4 separate regions of the Homo sapiens genome follow, and regions 1, 2 and 4 are each linked to region 3. The links are contacts of gene promoters, found by promoter capture Hi-C in blood cells and fetal thymus (Javierre and others, 2016). All regions are on one chromosome and are shown on one strand. The core of a region is centred on a gene start or on the middle of the fragment in contact, and the rest is flanking DNA. Distances in the headings are between cores, read along the strand shown.

Region 1 (3,447 bases), core at 874-3,373, 460 kb after region 3:
AAGAGGACTACATCTGCTCAGGAGGGAGACCCTTCCAGAACTGGAGTGGGAGTGGGGCCACTAAGGGACAAAAGAGAGAAAATGAAGGGCGTGTTAGCCTTTGCAAATTTGCTCCAGTTCTGGATAAGGGTGAATCATGTCTGCTAAGATACATAGGAAATGAAAGAAAGGTCAGGGCAAAAACGTGCATCAACACAAGGACAAAGAGAGAAGGAACCTGGGTTGAGCATCATGTTGGGCATTCCTGAGAATGCTGCAATTTTCATGGAACGCTGTGCTGTGACAGGAGGTGATAGAAGGTGGGTGGGTGGGTGGGTGGGTGGAGGAATGTTGTCCTGCCTTGCCAGGGGTCATTATTGCTCTTGGAGGTAAGGGAGACTGAAGTTAGAGATGATTGGGTCAGAAAAAGGGCAATTGTGCTGGTTTGTAAGCTCTGGAGAGCAATGGCCCCATCTTCCTCACATGACTTCCCCACTGAGCTAGCACAGTACCTAGCAGAGACATTGTTGATAAACAAAGACCATGTCTGACTCATGAGGATGAAAGGCAAGTTGTCTGCAGATAAATCTTCTTTTTTTTTTTTTTGGTAGAGATGAAGTCTCCCCATGTTGCCAAGGCTGGTCTCGAATTCTTGGGCTCAAGCAGTCCTCCTGCCCAAGCCTCCCAAAGTACTAGGATTACAGGCATGAGCCTCCATGCCTGGCCCAGATAAATCTTAACACAGCAGTCTGTGGCTTCTCTCTTTCCAGCTCTGCTGAGGCCTGTCAAGGAAGCAGGGATCCTCCTAGAATCCCAGGCTTTGGGGAGTGTAGCTGGGCCAAGGGTCAGTGAGGCAAAACAGTGAGGAGTCCAGACCAATACAGTTCTAATTGGATCCAAGCAGCCAGACAATATCAATTAAAATGCACTTAGTCATGAGACTTACCCCCCTTCTAAGGGGCAGAAATGCTGAACGCTGTAGGGCACGGACAGACTTCTATTTATCTTTGTATCCTCAGTGTCTGGCTTGCTGCCCGGCACATGGTAGGCACTCAATAAATGGCTGGTGAATGAACTACCCAATTAAGGGAAAACATGAAAGAAATGGGAGGCATCCAATGAGAAGAAAGGCACTGGGCAGAGGTTTTAGATTCCCATCCCAGACTTTTCCTGTCACATAGACCTTGGCTTATCTACACACACACAGGCACACACACACACCTACCTATTCCACACACACACACACACATCCCTACCTATTTCCTCTTTTCCACGTGATACTGTAAAGTACACCACCCATCTTTCAAGGCCTGTTTCTTTGCCTTCTCTCTAAGCTCTGCAGTTTCCCTCAGCTTTGAAACCATATGACAAACCTGTTTGTAGGAAGCACAAATAGTGCCTTGGGTAGACTTCCTCCCTGCTCTGTGTTTCTTCAGTAACTGGTGTGTGTCCCAATCTCTGCATTTTTCATCTTGTGTATACTATACTGTCCCTGTTAGTTCCCTTCAGTGTGATTTCTTATTTGTCCCCGTGTCTCCACCTGACTCCAGTTCTGCAGAAGGCAATCAGCAAGTTTACTGACTGTCCTGAAGGAGGCTCAGGTCTGTTTACCATCCCCAAGTCTTAGGAAAGAAAAAGAAAAAAGTCCCGCCCTGGCCACTACATCCCACGAGAAACAAGACCTTAATAACAGTGTAAAAAGAAACTGCTGCCCAAAGAATGAAATCAGCGGGTGGAGGGTGGTCCTTCTAGGTTCTAGGAGCTCAGATGCCAAACAGATGGGATTGGTCCGAGATAGGAATGGAAAAGAAGAGAGAGAGGCTGCCTGCTAACAGTCACGACCTCCGACTCCGGCGGAGCACAGGGCACCGAGTGGTACACAGAGAGCATTTCCCTCCCAATGTGCGCCTCTATTTCCGGACAGACGGCCTCACTGCCAAGAGAGACTGGCCTCTCAGACTCTCCTAGGCGGGTAGCGTAGCTCACAGCGGGCACTGGGACACCCAGTGATTCGGCCGTGTCAGGCCCCACGGCAGAAGGAAAGGAATTCTGGGCCCGACGACTTCAATCCATCCCCACGGCGCCCCAGCTCTGTGACTCACCCGAACTCCACCTCCACTGACAAGGGCGCAGCCATGTTGAGGAAGCCGAGCTCGCAGGAAACTCCCCTCAACTTCCGGCGCGCCCGCAAATTTCCGGGCGTCTCCGGGTGCCGCGGACGGAAGAGGCGGTGCCCAGGGATCCAGCTTCGTCAGCTGTTGGAGGAAGTCATCGAGGGGAGGGGAGGGGAGGGGAGGGCAGCGGAGGGAAAGGGGTGGCAGAGGGACTATCACCGGCGCTGTTGGGGCTGTGAATCGGTCTCCTTCCGTCTTTCACCGACTGGGCTCAGAGACCCAGGGTGGGAAGCGCCTTGTACGGGACCACAAGCAGGCGGAGGAGAGCCCCCAGGTTTTTTGCGACGTGACCGTGAGCCACGTAGCTGCTTATCTTGCATGAGTTAGAATCTCTTCAGTCTACACACCGCTTGGGCCAGCCCATCTACTCGTCTGGTTGGAATTATAAATGACTCCCAGATCTTTATTTCCGACCCAGAATCTCTCCTGAGCGGGCGACTCGCTATCCAGCCGCCCCCTTTGCTGTCGATTTGGAAGTCACTCGTTCAACAGCTGTTCATTGCGCCTCCCTGTGCCAGGCATTTTGATCGGTGCTAGTGGTAAAGGGGATGGGCAAGGTTCCTGCCTTTAGGGCACTCACAGTCTAGCGGGGAGACTAACTGTAATCAAATAAGCATACTAAGACATGTACAACCTCAAACTTAAATAAAGGAACTGAAGTTATAGGAACTTCAAAAAGAAAACTGAGTAGACTGGACTTGCTGGGCTCTAAAACCTGAGTAAACTAGGTGGCTGTGAGGGGAGAGAAACCTCTAGGAGCATTCCAGTGAGGAGGACAAAAGGCCCAGAGGCTCTGGGTGAGAACATGCTGGAACATGGAGAGGAAGGTGGAAGTTAGGGAGCCTGACTTTCATCCATCTAGAGAGGGAGCTGCAAAGGTGCTCAGGGGCCAACCCCTGCCTTGTAAGCAGGTAAACATTTCAGTCTCTAGGAGCAGTGGGAGACTACTGAAGGGTTTTGGGAGACAGTGACATTTTAGAATTGTGTTTTAAAATATAATTTCTGGCTGCAATATGGAGAATGATTTGAGGGGAATAAGGAAAGAGACACGGAGACCACTGGAGCCTGTTGCAAAAGCTCAGGGCAGGCCGGGCGCGGCGGCTCAGGGCAGGCCGGGCGCGGCGGCTCACGCCTGTCATCCCAGCAATTTGGGAGGCCGAGGCAGGCGGATCACGAGGTCAAGAGATCAAGACCATCCTGGCCAACATGGCAAAACCCTGTCTTTACTAAAAAAATACAAAAATTAGCTGGATGTGGTGGCGTGCGCCTGTAGTCCCAGCTACTCGGGAGGCTG
Region 2 (3,399 bases), core at 528-3,027, 490 kb after region 3:
TTGCATCTCTGTCTTCTTCAGTTTCGACTTATCGAATTTCTCAATCTCAGCCATATCGGGTTTGTCAGACATGGTTGCGGAGGAAAAGCGGAGCGAGGCATGCGAGAACGAGCGAAGTCTGGTCTGCGCAGTGGCCACCACCGAGTTGTCCTGAGACGTGTTCTAAGAGGCTTTTCTAGCCAAAACATGACAGTTCACTCTTCTGACATCCAGGGTCCCTAAAACCGGATGGCCTGGGGGTGGGTACTGACTTAAGAGCCTCTGGCTCGCTGGCAGTGGTGGCTCACACCTGTAATCCCAGCACTTTGGGAGGCCGAGGCAGGCGGATCATGACGTCAGGAGTTCGAGACCACCCTGACCAAGATGGTGAAACCCTGTCTCTACTAAAAATACAAAAATTAGCCAGGCATGGTGGCACACACCTGTAACCCCAGCTACTCAGGAGGCTGAGGCAGAAGAATTGCTTGAACCCGGGAGGCGGAGGTTCCATTGAGCCGAGATTGTGCCACTGCACTCCAGCCTGGGAGACAGAGCGAGACTCCGTCTCAAAAAAAGAAAAAAAAAGTCTCTGGCTCGACTCCCCACCCAGAACCCAGGGAGGTTCTGTGGATGACCAGGCCAAGTCAAAGGGGCAGCTCCCTGGAAAAGGAGCCCTGCTTGGTCCCTGCCCATAGACTCAGGTATCGCAGTGCGTCTGTTGGTCTATAGAGGGCGACCCAGAAAACGAGTTAGAGCCTGGAAGTGCTTGAAAGGTGACCGCCCAGGGGGCAAAGCTGATTGAGGGAGGCGAGGAGGACCTTGAAGACACCACCACCCATCACACAGACACACACAGCCACTCGGATGAATCTTTGGGGTCTAGGGCTTAGGGGAAGGCGAATGACTTGACTGTGCTTCAGGGGCTGGGTTGAGCTAGGACTCTTGGGTTCTATTCCTGGAGCTTTGAGGACTCGATCAAGGGGACATCTGATGGGACTGTTTTTCTCCGAGTTTTCCTGTTCTTGGGAGTAGATGAAGGTCACAAATGTGAAATGGCCTGAGAGCCTCCAAGCCAGGAAAAGGGAATGGTCTGGACCACAAGAAGCCCTGGGAGACCATCTCCCCCTCCCCCTCGCGAAAAGCAAAAGCCGGGGGCGGGGGAACTGAACCAGAGTCCTCAACCCCAACGCCAGGGTCCAGGGTCCTCAGATCTCTGGCCTCCCATAGCCCGCCATAGCAGAGGGGCAGGAACCTGTCCTGGAAGGCTGGGGCAAGAAGAGGCCAGAAGAGGGTGACTAGTTCCCTCGGGCCCCTGTCCCGGGTCACGCGTGCCGCCCTCGCCCCTAGACAGCAAGGTAACAGTGCGTCTGTCGGGGAAATAGCGCCGCAGGGCGCGCCCCCCACCTGGGGTCCGCACCGCCACCTCGCCCGACTCGGCCTGGCACATGTCCCCACCCGGGAACCCACCAGCCCGGTCTATGCTCACCCGGCGTCGGCTCCGCCGCGCGGCGCCCCGTCCAGATGCGGCCCGGTTGCAGCAGCGTAGACAGCGTGAGGGGCATTAGCCGCCCCTGGACGCACGGAGCCGGGTCTCAGCAGGGTTTAGCCGGCTCTGCGCCCTGCATGGCCCGGCCGCCCCGCCAGCCCCGCCCGCCGCCCGGCCCCGCCCGCCGCGCTCCTACCCCGCCCGCCTCCCGCACCCCAAACCTGCTGTGCCAGGCCGCAGCACCGCCTGCCGCACCTTCCCCGAAGCCGGCAAGCCACAGAGCCGGCGGCGCAGCGCAGCCCCAGCGCGCCTGACGCCGCTCGGCCCCAGCCCGCCCTGCTCGCGCAACGGCTTCGGGCGGCGCCGCCGCGCGGCACGCTGGGAGTTGTAGTCCACGCCGCGCGGCCCCACCCAGCCGAGGAGACCCCCGAGTCCGCGAGGAGACAGGCGGGCTTCACCCCGGCCCTTCCTCCCTGCCGACCCCGGCCCTTGCCCCCTGCTGTCCCCAGCGCCCGGATGTAGGAAGAGCACCCCAGTCCACACCACAGCCGAAAACCCGGAGCACGCTCTCGGGCCCCGGCCGAGTTCAGCAAACACCCAGCACCACACCTAGAAGCTCGCTAAGAGGGCGGTTTCAGGCAGAGGTGAGCGGGGCGGCCGGGTTCCGCAGCCGGCTCTGTGGCGCAATGGATAGCGCATTGGACTTCTAGCTGAGCCTAGTGTGGTCATTCAAAGGTTGTGGGTTCGAGTCCCACCAGAGTCGAATTTTGATGGCTCCTACTCCCTGACTTTCACCTGCGTGTTTTAAGGACTCCAGGACCTATCTAACAAATAAGGTTCAGAACGAAAATCATAAGTCACACCCAACTTTGCTGCGACACAGCCATAAACCTGGTGTCTAGGTGACTACGAGAAATCCTTTCTCGTACCATGGTGTCTTGTGAGCAGCCTGGCACACCTGTTGGCACAAAGGACACGGATTTGGAGGCCCTTAGTTAACTTCACCATCTATGATCTCTGGTCCCTGCAACAAATCAGTTAACCTATATTTGTCATGCCACCCTTATTTGTCATGCCACCTCCAGAGCCATAGGCGAGTGGCCAGATTCTCGGCCCTGTTGGGACTCTTGGCCTCTGAAAAATTGGTTTCTTGTTAAGTAACCATGTTGGGCATCCACAGTTGCCACTTGTCCTTAAACATTAATAGATCCCTGGGAGGCTGAGGCAGGAGAATTGCTTGAACCTGGGAGGCGGAAGTCGCAGTAAGCCGAGGTTGCGCCACTGCACTCCAGCCTGGGCGACAGAGCAAGTCTCCATCTCAAAAAAAAAAAAAAAAAAAAAAAAAAAAAAGATTCTGGGACTGGCGTGGTGGCTCAAGCTTGTAATCCCAGCACTTTTGGAGGCTGAGGCAGGAGGATCACTTCAGCCAGGAGTTCAAGACCAGCCTGGGCAACATAGTGAGACTCTGCCTCTACAGGAAAAAAAAAAAAATTAGCCAGGTAGCTCTTGCTTGTACTCCCAGCTACTCAGGAAGATGAGGTGGGAGGATTGCTTGAGCTCTGGAACTTGGGGCTGCAGTGAGCTGTGATTGCACCACTAAACTCCACCCTGGGCAACAAAGTAAGACCGTGTCTCAAAAAATAAAAATAAGCTGGGCACAGTGGCTCATGCCTGTAATCCCAGCACTTTGGGAGGTTGAGGTGGGCAGATCACATGACGTCAGGAGTTCGAGACCAGTCTGGCCAACAGGGCGAAACCCTGTCTCTATTAAAAATACAAAACTTAGCCGAGCGTGGTGGTGCACGTCTGTAATCCTAGCTACTCAGGAGCTGAGGCAAGAGAATCACTGAACCCGGGAGGCAAAGGTTGCAGTGAGCCGAGATTGGGCCACTGCACTCCAGCCTGAGCAACAGAGCAGTGAGAGCCTGTCTCAG
Region 3 (3,075 bases), core at 285-2,784:
TACTAAAAATACAAAAATTAGCCGGGCTTGGTGGCAGGCGCCTGTAATCCCAGCTACTTGGGAGCTTGAGGCAGGAGAATTGCTTGAACCTGGGAGGCAGAGGTTGCAGTGAGCCGAGATCATGCCACTGCACTTCAGCCTGAGCAACAGAGTGAGACTAGATCTCAAAAAATAAAAGGCATTAATGGCTCAAGTCTATAATCTCAGCCCTTTGGGAAGCCAAGTTGGGAGGATTGCTTGAACCCTGGAGTCTGAGACCAGCCCTGGCAACATAGTGAGACACTATCTGTACAAAAAGAAAAAAAAAAATTAGTCGGGCATGGTGGCTCACACTTGTAGTCCCAACTAATATAGTCTGTTAATTAAAAGAGAACGAGGCCGGGCGTGGTGGCTCATGCCTGTAATCCCAGCATTTTGGGAAGCCGAGGTGGGCGGATCACCTGAGGTCAAGAGTTCGAGACCAGCCTGACCAACATAGAGAAACTCCATCTCTACTAAAAATACAAAATCAGCCAGGCGTGGTGGTGCATGCCTGTAATCCCAGCTACTCGGGAGGCTAAGGCAGGAGAATCGCTTGAACCCAGGAGTTGGAGGTTCCTGTGAGCTGAGATCGAGCCATTGCACTCCAGCCTGGGCAAGAAAAGCGAAACTCTGTCTCAAAAAAAAAAAAAAAAAAAAAAAAAAAAAAAAAAAAAGGCCGGGTGCAGTGGGTCACGCCTGTAATCCCAGCCCTTTGGGAGGCCGAGGCTGGAGGATCACTTATGGTCAGGAGTTCAACCAGGCTGGCCAACACGGGGCCAACATCAACACCATCTCTACTAAAAACACACACAAAAAAATTTGCTGGGCATGGTGGCACGCTCCTGTAATCCCAGCTTCTTGAAAGGCTGAGGCAGGAGAATTGCTTGAACCCAGGAGGTGGAGGTTGCAGTGAGCCGAGATCGCGCCATTGCACTCCAGCCTGGGCAATGAATCGAGACTCTGTCTCAAAAAAAAGAAAGAGTACGTGAACGAATCTATAAGAAACCTGGAGTAAATTATCTCATTTTCAGCTCTGAATCACACTACAGCTCAAGGCCCCAGGGTCCCCATGTATAAAGCCTTCCAGGAGCTAGGCGTGGTGCTGCGCACCTGTGGTTCCAGCTACTCGGGAGGCTAAGGTGGGAGGATCCCTTGAGCCCAGGAGCTCAAGCCTGCAGTGAGCTAGAATTGCTCCACTGCACTCCAGCCTCGGCAACATAGCGAGACCCTGTCTCAAAAAAAATTATTTTTAAACAAGTGAACTACTCAGAGGTCTGAGTGTTGTATTTGTCCCAACTCAGAGGGGGGCTCCGAGCCATCCAAAATTCAGCACAGTACCCGCGATGCCGCCTATTTGGACACCTACTCTGCCCAACCTACTCCAGCCCGCGTACCCCTGCAGCCCGTCGGGCGCCCAGGCCACGCCCCTGGGCGATATTGGCTCTCCGATTGGACAGCTTAATGGAGGTGTGGCCGGAAGAGGCGAGTCTCATTGGCAGAGGCGGGACCGACGGTGTGTGCGGAACATGGCGGAGCGCGGCAGGAAGCGGCCGTGCGGCCCGGTAAGTGCGGGCGGCGGGACCCCGTGCAGGGCAGCATGGTGGAGGCGTGAGAACCAGTGGCGTGGGGGCCTTCGCCGGGGCCGGGCCGCGCCTCCTGCTGCCTGCTTCCCGCTGATCCCAGGCCGGAAGCCCCCGAAGGTGCCGCGTGAGCCTCAGCAGGATGGGAACAGCGCCCGTGTCCTCTCCGGAACCCCCTGCGGCTCCCTGGCCCCCGCTGGATTACGGAGGCGGGACCCTGCTCGCCTCCGGATGCTGAATCCGGAGCCCTTTCGTGGCTTCTGGAGCCCTTTTCTGACTTCCAGGGCGACTGTGGGCAGTGCTGTACCCTGAGCCTCAGTTTTCTCTTCTGTTTTGTGGGAACTCATTCGACAGTTTCTTGAGTGCTTTCTGTGTGCCAGGCTGGGTCCCAGGCGCTGGGGATACAGCGGGTCCCTGCCCTCCTGCCGCTTTCTGGGGCAGCAGTTCGCAGAGGTTCCTTGGCTTCCTTGCCGCCCCGTGTGGAGGGGCTGGCTATGGTGCAGCAAACGGACCCCCTCCAGGTGTGACCATCAGCCTCACACTCATAATCCTCCTACCACTCCTTCTCCAGGGTGAACACGGCCAAAGGATTGAGTGGCGAAAATGGAAGCAACAGAGTAAGTAAGGGTGGGTAAGAGTATCTTCCCATAGGCCACTCCACCAGTGCTCAGTCAAACCCTGGAGAAAGACACCAACTTTGTTCCCTCTGGGTCCTGCAGCACACAAAGTGGGGAGGCAGGGGCCGGGAGCCCTGGGGAGGCTCCCTTGCTGCCCTCTGGCTGCTCACCCAGCAGCTCTCCAGAGTCCAGGCTGACCCAATGAGTGGGAACTGTCTCCTTGGCCAATTAGGATGTTCTTTTATCCAGAGAAAGAGGAGAAAAAAAAATGGAAGGATCTCAAGCTGATGAAAAAACTGGAGCGGCAGCGGGCACAGGAGGAACAGGCAAAGCGCCTGGAAGAGGAGGAGGCAGCGGCAGAGAAGGAGGACCGCGGTGAGCTGGGGTCTTGGGGAGGGCCACAGGTTGTGGCCCACGGTAGTTGTCCTGCAGGCAGAGCAGAGATGTCTTATCTGAAAGGGCCTTTACAGACCAGTAGGTCCAAACATCTTGTCCTGATGGAGAAACTGAGGCCCAGAGAAGGGAGGGAGCCAGCAAACTGAGTTCTGACCTCCTGCTTAGGTAAATTTCAAGCCTATGGAAGGCAAGCCTTATCTCTCTTTTTTTTTTTTTTTGAGATGGAGTCTTGCTCTGTTGCCCAGGCTGGAGTGCAACGGCGCCATCTCTGCTCACTGCAACCTCCACTGCCCAAGTTCAAGCAATTTTCCTCCCTCGGCCCCCCGAGTAGTTGGGATTACAGAAGTGTGCCACCACACCTGGCTAATTTTCGTATTTTTAGTAGAGACGTGGTTGCACCATGTTGGGGAGGCCGGTCTCGAACTCCTGACCTCAGGTGATCTGCCCACTTCAGCCTCCCA
Region 4 (3,412 bases), core at 235-2,734, 330 kb after region 3:
CGGCTAATTTTGTATTTTTAGTAGAGATGCGGTTTCACCATGTTGGCCAGGCTGGTCGCGAACTCTTGACCTCAAGTGATCCGTCCCCCTCGGCCTCCCAACGTGCTGGGATTACGGGCCTGAGCCACCACGCCTAGCCTTGCATGTGATTATTTTGATACAAGCTTACAAAATCTGGGACATTTAAAATAAAATAAATAAATAATAAAAGTAATGGATTACAACTCACTGAATAAAATAGAAAGCACCTCCTTACAGTAGAATGCCAACTAACAAATGCAGAAGGAATAGCGGATATAAAGAAACAGGATCTGGCAACGTCATAGAGGTATCGATTCATGTGGAAAACATCAATGAATGCTAAAGCCATGGAGGATTAAGGTTTGCCCAGAAAAAAGGATACTGGTATTATTACTTCCCAACAATTACTAAGGGAAAAATGACGAATTTTAAACGGAGAGACCAGGCAGATAATAACGTAACCAGGTGATCAAGATTAGCATCACCAGTGTTGGGATGGGTTGACATCTGTGTGCCTCCTCATGTGACTTACTGAGAAAGCCATGGCATCATTTCTGTGGTATTCCTGCCAAGAATGCTTAACCTTGGTCTGGTGGTTTGAAAGCACATATGCTGGCAGTCAACCTACAGAATGTAAGGTCTGTATTTTTCAAAACTGTCAACAACATAAAAGACAGGGAAATACTTTAGGATTGTTTCCCAAGAAGTCTGAGGATGCAGGACAACGCCTTATCTGTAGCTAACTAGCAGCGACTCGGGAATGGGAGCTCGGCCTTAACTCTCCACATCCCTCCACTTCTCGCGCAGAGCTTTGCAAATGCTAGGTACGGTGACCACGCCCCCATTCACTTTCCAGGTCTGCCAAATCAATCTAAAAATTTGGTCATTTCACTAGTAGCAATGGATTAGGTCGTGTCAATCGTTCGTCGCAAACTCTAGAGCTCCCAGCACATGAGACATACAGTAAGTTAACTGAACCTGGGGCCGAGATTGCTTTGACAACAGCAGAACGGAGAAGGCGCCCAACTGGCGGAGGGTAGCAATGAAGCCTTCAGAGCGCGGGGCACCTGTGAAGTCAGGGGAGCTCCCCGAAACGCTAAAATAGGCTGAAGAGGACAGAAACCCCAGGACAGAGGGATGTACACACAGAAGTCAAGAAATAAATGCAGGTTGTTAGACTGCACGGGTTCCCGGGAGCAGAACGTGCCAACGGCTAGGGAGAAGGTTTCGGTCGCGAGGGGCCGGAAAGGCCTACGTCCTCCGGGGCCACCGCTCACCTCGCGCCGCAGCAGCCAGTCGCGGTAGTAGCAAAGGCGACCTTTGTCGGAACTGCGTAGGGCCTTCAAGGTCTCCCAGCAGCGACCCTCAGACGGCATGGTTGGCTAAGGGGCAGCTTCTCTGACGCCCCCCTTCTGACCAAACAAGCCCTCGAATCAGCCGCCGGGAAGGCCACACAGGCTTCTGCTTCCGGGACGCGCGCGCAGCACAGCCCCGCCCCTAACGCCTGCACGCCCCACCTCCGGCGACGCTCCCGCGTTCCCGCCCTCCCACCAGTGCGCCTGCGCGCAGGGCTTGGCTGTCGGGGCACGTTCCGCAGAGGTAACCACCGCTCCCAATCCCCGGGGCTGCTGAAAATTTGTCTGTGCCTTGAGACTGTGCAGAAACTGGAACCCTCATACACTGCTCATGGGACTGTAAAATGAAGCACCTGCTGTGGAAGACAGTCTGGCAGTTCCTCAAAAGGTTAAACAATTACCATTTGACCCAGCAATTCTCCTAGGTAAATATATATATATATATAAAATACGCCAAAGAAATGAAACCTATGTATATATAAAAACTTGTCCATGAATGTTCACAGCAGTGTTATTCATAATAGCCAAAAAGTGAAAGCAACCCAAACGTCCATCCATTGGTGAATGGATAAATAAAATATAGTACTATGTGCGCGGTTCCCGAGTTCCCCCGCTTTCTGTGCACTGACCAAGTATCAGAGTGCCTTGACCGCCCTGTGACCCAGCCAGCTGCAAGTTTTTTCCTGCAGACTTGCAACCAAACACGGGCCTTGCATATCCCTAGGCACTAAGGATATCTAGGTTATTGCCCAAAACGCTGAAACTGACCCCTGCTTTTAGCCAAATTCCATAAACCCTCATATAAACTTCATACCCTGACCCCTCGCTGGGGATGTACCTAGGTGAAACACCGCTTCTCTCTGTCTGTCGCGAGAATTGCTGCAGCCCACTCTGTAAGCTTCCCTAATAAATGTTTTGGGTTTAATGCTGCTTTTTTGAGACAGAGTCTTGCTCTGTCCCCCAGGCTGGAGTACAGTGGCTCGATCTCGGCTCACTGCAACCTCCGCCTCCCGGGTTCAAGCGATTCTCCTGCCTCAGCTCCCCGTGTAGCTGGGACTACACGCGCCAGCCACCACGCCCAGCTATTTTGTATTTTTAGCAGAGGCGGGGTTTCACCATGTTGGTCAGGCTGGTCTCGAACTCCTGACCTCAGTTGATCCACCCACCTCGACCTCCCAAAGCGTTGGGATTACAGGCATGAGCCACTGCGCCCGGCCATAGTGCTTCTTTGGAATCCCAACCAGCCCTGTTTGGCAGGAGGAAACACCACATCTATATAATGGAATGTTATGGGGCCATAAAAATAAAGTGCTGATGATACGCTGCAACATCAATCTTGAAAGCATTATGCTGAGAGAAGCCAGTCATGAATGGCCACATGTTGGACAATTCCACTTATGTGAAATATCCAGAAGAGACAAATCTATAGAGCCAGAGAAACTTTATGACTAGTTGCCAGGGGCTGGGGGAGGGGAATGGGGAGTGACTGCTAATGGGTATGGCGTTTCTTTTTTGGGAGTGATGAAATTGGTTGGCTGGGTGCCGTAATCCCAGCACTTTGGAAGGCCAAGGTGGGCAGATCACCTGAGGTCAGGAGTTTCAGACAAGCCTGGGCAACATGGCAAAACCCTGTCTCTACAAAAAATACAAAAATTAGCCAGGCAAAGTGCCATGCACCTATAGTCCCCACAGGCTGATGCAGGAGGATCCCTTGAACTCTGGAGGCAGAGGCTGCAGTGAGCCGAGATGGTGCCACTGCACTGTAGCCTGGGTGACAGAGAGAGACTCCATTTCGAAAAAAGAAAAAACTAGGTCTAGAATTAGATAATGGTGATGGCTACACAACTTGGTGAATATACTACAAACCATTGAATTATATATACACTTTATCTTTTCGAGACAGAATCTCGCCGTGTTGCCCAGGCAGGAGTGCAGTGGCGTGATCTTGGATCACTGCAACCTCCACCTCCTGGGTTCAAGTGATTCTCCTGCCTCAACCTACCAAGTAGCTGGGACTACAGGCGTCCACCACCACT

The links. Contacts are between HindIII fragments. The CHiCAGO score rates a contact against its expected background, and 5 or more counts as called.
Region 1: the fragment with the promoter of URM1 here is called in contact with the fragment with the promoter of SPOUT1 in region 3 in 1 of 17 cell types (fetal thymus); the score reaches 7.4 in fetal thymus.
Region 2: a contact is called between the fragment with the promoter of SLC27A4 here and the fragment with the promoter of SPOUT1 in region 3, in 1 of 17 cell types (M0 macrophages). The highest score is 5.2, in M0 macrophages.
Region 4: a contact is called between the fragment with the promoter of GLE1 here and the fragment with the promoter of SPOUT1 in region 3, in 4 of 17 cell types (naive CD8 T cells, non-activated CD4 T cells, total B cells and 1 more). The highest score is 8.9, in naive CD8 T cells.

What each region holds. Positions count from the first base shown.
Region 1 is chr9:128,370,050-128,373,496 of GRCh38, reverse strand. It overlaps URM1 (ubiquitin related modifier 1), which reads right to left and starts at 2,123. Exons shown (of 5, transcript NM_030914.4): 1 at 2,082-2,123. The coding sequence starts at 2,116. RefSeq lists enhancers at 1,925-2,024, 2,088-2,951, 2,952-3,447. The HindIII fragment of the contact is 13,678 bases long and covers 1-3,447 here.
Region 2 is chr9:128,338,905-128,342,303 of GRCh38, reverse strand. It overlaps SLC27A4 (solute carrier family 27 member 4), which reads right to left and starts at 1,777. Exons shown (of 13, transcript NM_005094.4): 1 at 1,466-1,777. TRR-TCT3-1 (tRNA-Arg (anticodon TCT) 3-1) reads left to right here and starts at 2,138; the gene lies at 2,138-2,228. It also overlaps the pseudogene TMSB4XP4. RefSeq lists an enhancer at 435-614 and silencers at 1,251-1,650, 1,721-2,130, 1,759-2,400. The HindIII fragment of the contact is 5,439 bases long and covers 1-2,845 here.
Region 3 is chr9:128,828,253-128,831,327 of GRCh38, reverse strand. SPOUT1 (SPOUT domain containing methyltransferase 1) reads left to right here and starts at 1,534. Exons shown (of 12, transcript NM_016390.4): 1 at 1,534-1,583; 2 at 2,173-2,218; 3 at 2,468-2,593. The coding sequence starts at 1,548. KYAT1-SPOUT1 (KYAT1-SPOUT1 readthrough) reads left to right here. Exons shown (of 25, transcript NR_182311.1): 14 at 1,323-1,583; 15 at 2,173-2,218; 16 at 2,468-2,593. RefSeq lists silencers at 583-806, 1,623-1,802 and enhancers at 1,283-1,342, 2,140-3,070. The HindIII fragment of the contact is 15,703 bases long and covers 1-3,075 here.
Region 4 is chr9:128,502,791-128,506,202 of GRCh38, reverse strand. GLE1 (GLE1 RNA export mediator) reads right to left here and starts at 1,484. Exons shown (of 16, transcript NM_001003722.2): 1 at 1,299-1,484. The coding sequence starts at 1,397. RefSeq lists an enhancer at 1,084-1,243 and a silencer at 1,464-1,673. The HindIII fragment of the contact is 2,110 bases long and covers 167-2,276 here.